Regions from separate parts of the Homo sapiens genome. Here all the other regions are linked to region 2. The links are contacts of gene promoters, found by promoter capture Hi-C in human tissues and cell types (Jung and others, 2019). All regions are on one chromosome and are shown on one strand. The core of a region is centred on a gene start or on the middle of the fragment in contact, and the rest is flanking DNA. Distances in the headings are between cores, read along the strand shown. Region 1 has its middle 120 kb from the start of MIR4427. Region 2 holds the start of KCNK1 (potassium two pore domain channel subfamily K member 1). Region 3 has its middle 110 kb from the start of SLC35F3.

Region 1 (2,700 bases), core at 115-2,614, 130 kb before region 2:
TTAAAGGAAAAATAAAGACCTATTCTAACAAAGCTTAAAACCATGCCCATACAACAAGATCAGGGTCTTTTCCAGTCTATCTCTTGGATAGACCCTATGTTGGGCAATGAAATAAGTCCCAGTAAATTTCAGAGGACTGAATTCATATAACACATATATTCTTCGATTACAACATAATTATACTTGAAATCAATAATAAGGACATTTGAAAGGAAGCAACAGTCTTCAAAAGAAGCTCATGGGTCAAAGAAGAAATCACCAGGAAAATTTTTAAAAATTTAAAACACTATGCAAAAGAAAGCTGCTGTGTCTATATTAATACCTAACATTATAGACTTTAAAACAATGAGGGGTCTTTAGTAATAATGAAAGGCTGAATTCATTAAGAAGATGACAAAAATCCTACATGCCTGTGCATCTAATAAGTGTGCCACAAAGCAGAAATCAGCAGAACTGAAGGGAGAAAAGAACAATCACACAATTATGATGGGATATTTTAAAACCCCACCTATCTCAGTAATTGATAGAGCACTTACCTAGAAAAACCAATAGGGATATAAAAGATTTTAGCAGCGCTAATAATCGACCTGATCTGATTGAAATTTATAGAACATTGCACCCAACAACCGGAGAGTAAACATCCTTTTTAAATTCACTTGAAACATTCTCCAAGATAGATTACATGCTGGATCATGAAATACATTTCAAAGGATCAAAATAATACAGAGTATGCTCTGTGATCACAATGGTATTAAATTATAATAAGATATCTAGAAAATTGAAGAATATTTAGAAATTTAGCAACACATTTTTTAAATAACTGATATAGGTCAAAGAAGAAATCACAAGACAAATTAGAAAATAATTTGAGCCTTGGTGCAATGGTTCACACCTGTAATCCCAGCACTTTGGGAGGCTGAGCTGGGAGAATCACTTGAGGCTAAGAGTTTGAGACCAGCCTGGGAAACACGGCGAGACCTGTCTCTACAAAAGAAATTAGCCAGCCATGGTGGCGCGCATCTATTGTCCTAGCTACTCGGGAGGCTGATGCAGAAGGTTTGCTTGAGTACAGAAGTTTGAGACTGCAGTGAGCCACAATCATGCCACTGTACTCCAGTCTGGGTGACACGGGAGACCTTGTCTCAAAAAAAAAAAAAAAAAAAAAGAACCTCTATGAAAACCTACATCATACAAAATGGTGAACTATTGAATGCTTTGCCCAAAGACCAGGAACAATCTTTGGATAAGTATATCCAATTCCATAACTTCTATTCAAGAGTGGAATGGGATCCTAATCAGTAAAAGAGAAGGAAAATAAATAAAAGGCATTAAGATTAGAAAATAGAAATAAACTTTATTCATAGATGACATGGTCATGTGCATAAGTAATGCTAAGAAATCTACATAGCAACCACTAGAATTAAGTGAATTTAACATGATTGCATGATACAAGGTCAAGATAAAAAAATTTATTGCACTCTACATAATAGGCACAATTAGAGATTAAGATTTAAAAGTGGTACCTTTTATAAAATTATTTAAAAATTAAATGCTTAAGAATAAAATTAACAAAAGACAAGCAAGACCTGTATGCTAAAAAGTACAAAATGCGTGCAAAAAGTGTAGAGAGAAATTTTAAAAAGCTCTAAGTAAAAGGACATATATAACATCATGGATTGAAAGGCAGTATTTTTAGTATGTCAATTTTCCCCAAAGCTACTGGTTCAATACAATCACTACCTTATTCCCAGTAGCTTTTTTTGGTAGCTATTAAGTTCATTCTAAAATGTATATGAAAATGCTAAGGTTCTAAATTAGCCAAAAGAATCTTGAAAAAGAACTCAGTAGAACTTACTCCAATTGATTTAAGCACTAATTATAATACTACAGTATTTAAGATAGTTTGATACTGATATAAGACAGACAAGTAGATTAATGCTACTGGAAGAGTCCAGAAATAGACTCACATATTCAATTAATTTTCAACAAAAGAAGGCACCAAGGCAATTCAAAAACAAAAGTCTTTTCAACAAACAAAGCTACAATAATCAAATAAACATATAGGAAAATGTGATCCATGATCTCTATTTTAGACTATGAACAAAAATTACTTGGGGATGGATCATAAGCTTAAACATGAAGCTCGAAAACTTATAGATGAAAGCAGAGACTATCTATGCAGCTTTGAGTAGGCAAAAATTTCTTAGGTGGGCCATCAAAAGCACTAACTGTAAAATAAAAATTATTAGTCAATTGCAGTTCATCAAATCAAAAATATCTTTTTTGACACCATTAAGAAAATAAAAGGTGAGACACAGAGTGAAATTCTTGCAATACATGTATCTGACATATGTTCAGGAATATATCCAGAATATATATCCAAAATGTATAGAGAACTCCTATAATCAATATTTAGGCTTGGTGGGGTGAATCACATCTGCAATCTTAGCACTTTGGGAGGCCAAGGTGGGCAGATCACTTGAGGTCAGGAGTTTGAGACCAGCCTGGCCAACATGGTGAAACCATGTCTCTACTAAATAAAAAAAAATAAAAATAAAAAAATAAAAAATAAATAAAAATTAGCCAGGTGTGGTGGTGCACGCTTGTAGTCCCAGCTACTAGGGAGGCTGAGGCAGGAAAATCACTTGAACTCAGGAGGTAGAGGTTGCAGTGAGCCAAGATCACACTACTGCACTCCAG
Region 2 (2,700 bases), core at 114-2,613:
TGGGTATGTGCCTTACTAGGTCCGGCTGGGGAAATTCGGCCTTCATTCATCTGATCTGGCACAGTGACCGAGCCCTGGGGCATGCGCCCGGCCTCATCTTTCACCTGAGGAGGCTCCTCCATGGCCGGGCGCCCCGCGGGTGAGTCGTACGGGGACGTGGCGCTTCGAAGTTTATGGGGAGCCTCGCACACCTCAAGTTGAAGGAACTGCTGAATCAGGGTGCCCCAATTAAGTCAGATCTTAGGCAATCCTATGGTTCCTTTACTCTCCCTCACCCTTCCTCCTACTCTGAAAAGAAACCGGATCGGCCTGTCCGCCCAGAGGTCACCTGGGAAGAGCAGAGTGATGTCACTCGGCTACCCCCAAAACTGCCTCCAAGGTACAAAAGAGCTGGAATATCTGTGCATGGTCCAAAGGGACGGCACACTCCGGAAGGTGACCCTTTAGAAGGTATTATTACCAGACTGCAGCCTCGGCCTCTGGGATGGGTGCGGGAGGAAGGTGGTGAGTTTCCATCATCCCGCTGCCTTGCCGCACGGCGGCCAGGTGCTGCTACACATTCAAACCCGACAGTTTGGCTTAGTGGGTTGCGAAAAAAGAACTCAAGGGGAGGAAGCACCTGCAGCCACCCAGGCCGAAGTTAGGGACCACTTCCCCAGAGTTACGGACGGCAACAACCAAGTCACGTCTGGAGTCACCTCTCTGGCTTCCGGCTCCGCAGGGCTTGCCCTCCCGAGTCACCCAGGCAGAGGCCGGGGACGCCAGTAAGGGGAAGGTCGGAGGGTCGGGAGGACAGTGAGGGGAGGCGGGCTGGAGGAGCCGGGATGGCGAAAGGTGGGGGGTGGGGTGGGAGGGTTAGAGGGGCCCGGGGCGCCGGGGCCGGGGTGTGTGGGTTGTGGGCGAGGTGGCCGGGGCGGCCAGGGGGCGCGCAGGATACCCTACCTGTGGTGGAGAGCACGGTGCTGGCGAAGAAGAGCGCGGAGGTGAAGTCCCAGTTCCAGTTGCCCGAGGCGTTGCTGAGCACCGACACGCCGTAGTTGCTGGCCTCCAGCACCCGGCCCAGGAACTGCTCCAGCTGCTGCTCAGACAGGCACTCGTGCTCCTCCAAGAAGCGTCGCTTCAGCTTGCGCAGCTCCTGGCGCAGCAGGTCCTCATAGGGCAGCTCCACCGAGGAGAAGACCACTGCGCCGAAGACCAGGTAGAGCAAGTAGCCCAGCACCAGGAAGCCGAAGCACCAGGCCGAGCGGTGCCGCTCCACCAGGCGCACGCACGAGCTGCCGGCCAGGGACTGCAGCATCTTCTCCACCGCCGCCGCCAAGGCCAACGCCGCAGACCGGCCGGAGCGCGGCCCGCCGCCTCTTCTGGCCCCGCCGCCCCCGCCCCCGCCCGGGCCTGGCTCCCGCCCGCCGCCCGCTCCCCCGCGCGCCCGCCCGCCCCGCTCCTCCGGGCAGCGCCGTCTTCCTGCGATTGGCTCTCTCGGGCGATGTTTTTCTTCCTTCTTTTCCTGTTTCCTTGCAATATAAAAAGCCCAGATGATGTGGCGCTGACGTGGTTGCCGGCTCAGGTAACCCGAGAGTCAGCGGAGACCGCGCGCAAACTTGGCCAGAGCGCCTGGGCTGGGCTGCCGGGGCCCGGGACGCACCGCCTTCTGCGCACTCCAGAGGTGGGGCGGGCGCTCGGTGGCGCCCAGACCCCGACCCGACAGCCACCAGCTCCTCCCGCTCCCTCCCTTCCTGGGTCCAGTAGCCAAACTCTAGCTGACCGCGCGCGGCGTGTGCGTGTGTGTGTGTGTGTGTTCGCGCGCGTGTAGTGTGGGCCGCTTCTGGTCAATGCGCTGGCCGTCCAAGCCCCCTGTCCAAGCTACTCTTGTTTCCCACTTATTTTCTCCCAATCAAAGCCAGTATTACAAAACAGCAAGCGCTGAAGTACTTTCCTTCTTTGTCTTATTGGTCGAAGGATTGAGCAATCTGGTGCCAGTAATGACGGTGAAAATACCAGAACATCAGAGTTGGAAGGCTCCTTGAATCAGTCTCCTCTCTCCCACCCATCCCCCTCACAAAAAGGACTTGAGGGAAAAGGAGAGTCTCAGAGAAGTCCTATTTCTGAGTTCGAATTTTCTAAAACATGACCTTAGGTTTTTTGGTGAAAAAACATCCCAAATGTGTCAACTGCCAGAAGAAACTGAGCTTTCCCAACTGTCACTTCTTTTTAAAGTGACAAAAATGTGGGCGAGGGTCAGCGAGCCGCCTGCTTGTGGATGAAAATAAAAATTGGTACACCCTTTCTGGAAAGGCAATTTAGCGACACGTCTCAAGAACCTTGAAAGGGTTTATTTGTTCTGATTCAGTGATATGTCCTAAGAAAAAACAATCAGAGAGGCACTTACTTACAAAGACTGGTCATAGACGGTATCTATATATACATACATGTAGTTGTATAATATAGTGCATACACATGTGGGACACACACACACACACACACACACACACGGTATAGATGAAATAATGAAGACTCAGAACAATCTAAATATTCCAAAATAGAGAATGGTTAAATAAGTTATGGCATCTCTACAGCATGGACACCATATAGACATTAAACACATTAAAGTTGTGTCTAAAGACTATTGAAGCAAAACTGTGTAGAATCTCAAATATGTAAAATATTTGTATTTTGTTACAAAATAAAATGACATCTGCATTA
Region 3 (2,700 bases), core at 139-2,638, 180 kb before region 2:
TCACAGAGTTCTAGGAACCCATGCACCACGGAGAGGCCCTTGGGAAGAACGAGTCTGGAACCCTAAACCAGCTTTAACTATTCATGGAGAGTTGGCCAGCTTTAGAAAACCCAGAAATTGCCCCTCTATGAAATTTTGCCTGGGTTGATAGGTGCAGCAAACCACCATAGCACACGTTTACCTAGGTAACAAACCTGAACATCCTACACATGTAGCCTGGAACTTAAAAAAAAAAAAAAAAAGTAAAGAAAAAAAAAAGAAATTTTGCCCAGCATCCAAGCCAGATTAACTCCTACTGTAGACCTTTATGCCTTTGACCCTTAAACTAAAGGCACCTCCCTGGCAAAGCTACACCTGAACACATAGCAGGCTTGCCCTTTGGGATGACTAAAGAACCTAGAAACAGTGAGGAAAAGTGAAGGGGTGTCTATATCAGGGAGAGAAGCATTTGCAAGGCCAAAAAAGCAAGGAAACCTTTTCTTTGATGCCAGCTGTGAGATGAGGTCTTGAAAGGAAGATGGCAAAGGCCATGAAGCAACCCAGGACGGGGCTGCAGTCAGATTCAGGGGATTTAAGACCCTGCCACAGGTGGGATCCCACCTCTGGGGGCAGCCACCACTGACGGTGGCCCTAGAAGAAGTATGCAGAAGAGTTATGTGGCAGGAAGGGGCCCACATTTTTCTTATGATTTTCTTCTTATGATTTTCTCTGGGCCTCCTTTAACTTCTGATTGGCTCTGGGATATGGATCAGTTTAAGTTTGCCTGGTAAAAGTAAATCCTCCAAAATCATAAACACTTATGTTGAAAGTGCCCCAGGCACATTTTCCTAAGGTAACCCTAAGTATACTCAGCCCTCGGTATCCTCAGTTTCTGCAGCCATGGATTCAAACAACCATAGGTCAAAAACATTAGAAAAAAAAAATTTTTTTTAATAACAATAAAAAATAATACAAATTAAAAATGCAATATAACAAGTATTTACATAGCATTTACATTGTATTGGTATTATGTCATATAGAGATGATTTAAAGTATACAAAAGGATGTGAGTAGGTTATATGTAAATGCCATGTCATTTTACATAAGGGACTTGAGCCTCCTCCTGGAACGAATTCCCTGTAGACACCAAGAGACGACTTCATTTTGCAAGTAGCGTCTCTCTAACATTCCTTAAGACAGAAAAGCAAGCTGGAGAAACTATGATTTCCCATTTCTCATTGTGGAAACTGTCATGTGAATGTGATTTATTGGAAGTGGTGAGAGAGTAAGGAATGCTGCCTTGCCAACCATTCATTCTACATATTTCTTTCACAACAACCACGGGCCTTGCCATGCACCATCTTGGGAAGGATGACAGAAGGGACTCATACATTTCTAAAGGCAGCAGCAGCAGCCTTTGAAGGCAGCTCATCTGGGAAGCCCAGTGTGTGGGCATCCGTGTGGATCCTCCAGCTGACAAAAGCTAATGGGCTGGTGATAGAGAACTGGAAGGCAGTGAAGCAGAACATGAAACCTGCTCAACAGACCACATCCCTGGACAGAGGCAAACATGGTGTGTCTAGGCCATTTCAACCACAGGGTTAAAAAACATGCTTTCAAGTGTCCTTATTGGTAAAGTTGCCAATCAGAGACTCAACAAAATTTTTCTCTCTTTGGCAACTAAGTCCTCACCCACACGAGAGACTGTGTGACATTAAAAAAGACACAACCTTGAGTACCAGTGTTTGGCCTCTCTGCAAGTACTGTGATGGCTCAGCTAGGAACAGAGTCCTTGTGCATAACCACTCTCACAGTAAGAAAGATCATCTATAAATTTCTGTGTAGTCAGTTCACCCCAAAATGTACAGCTGATTGTTCAAAATAGCCTGGGACCATCCCCCTCTCTCTTGCTCCCTTCTTCATCATGTGGCCCACCAGCTTCCCTGCCTTTTCTGCTACAACTTCCTGAGGTCCTCAGAAGAAGCAGAGACTGGTGCCAAGCTTCATGTACAGCCTGAAGAACAAAATAAACCTATTTTCTTTATAAATCATGAAGCCTCAGGTATTTATCTATAGCAACACAGGCTGGCCTGAGTGTCCTCACAACACCAAAGGGGGTGATTCCTGCCTTATCCTGTGAGAGGGGCAGTGGGATGCTTCAAAGCATACAAGATGGAACCATAAAGCCTATATTCAAAATCCAAGATGTCCACCAGGGTGACCTTGAGGTTAAACTCTTTCTGCTTCAGGTTCACTGTTTGTAAGGTGGAGGGCAGTAATGGTACCCAACTCATGGGCCAATTAACTTAATGAGCTAAAGCATCTCAAGCTCTGAGACCAGTGTCTGGCTGATACAAGCACTCAGTAAACACTGCTAATAGTATTACTACCAATTAGCTAATTAGCCCTGTCTTTTCATGTAGGGATTTGTGGGGTTTGTTAACTTTTATTTAAGTTCAGGGGTACATATGCAGATTTGTTATATAGGTAAATTTGTGTCCTGGGGGTTTGTTTTACAGATAATTTTGTCACCCAGGTATTAAGCCTAGTACCCATTAGTTCTTTTTCCTGATCCTCTCCCTCCTCCCACCCTCCACTCTCTGGTGAGCCCCAGTATATATTCTTTCCCTCTATGTGTCCATGTGTTCTAATCATTTAGCTCCCAGTTATAATTGAGAACAAGTGGTATTTGGTTTTCTATTCCTGCATTAGTTTGTGAAG

Evidence for each region. The method cuts DNA at HindIII sites, captures the fragments that hold promoters and counts their contacts. A contact is called where the count stands out against the background at its distance.
Region 1: a fragment that was not itself captured here is called in contact with the fragment with the promoter of KCNK1 in region 2 in 1 of the 25 tissues and cell types used here (neural progenitor cells).
Region 3: a fragment that was not itself captured here is called in contact with the fragment with the promoter of KCNK1 in region 2 in 1 of the 25 tissues and cell types used here (mesendoderm cells).

Annotation. Positions count from the first base shown.
Region 1 is chr1:233,741,257-233,743,956 of GRCh38, reverse strand. No RefSeq gene overlaps it. Among named protein-coding and RNA genes, the nearest start is that of MIR4427, 120 kb to the right of the region's middle. The HindIII fragment of the contact is 3,831 bases long and covers 1-2,700 here.
Region 2 is chr1:233,612,769-233,615,468 of GRCh38, reverse strand. KCNK1 (potassium two pore domain channel subfamily K member 1) reads right to left here and starts at 1,363. Exons shown (of 3, transcript NM_002245.4): 1 at 943-1,363. The coding sequence starts at 1,297. RefSeq lists enhancers at 337-396, 1,585-2,237 and silencers at 867-926, 1,267-1,336, 1,697-1,796. The HindIII fragment of the contact is 20,351 bases long and covers 1-2,700 here.
Region 3 is chr1:233,795,129-233,797,828 of GRCh38, reverse strand. No RefSeq gene overlaps it. Among named protein-coding and RNA genes, the nearest start is that of SLC35F3, 110 kb to the left of the region's middle. The HindIII fragment of the contact is 3,969 bases long and covers 1-2,700 here.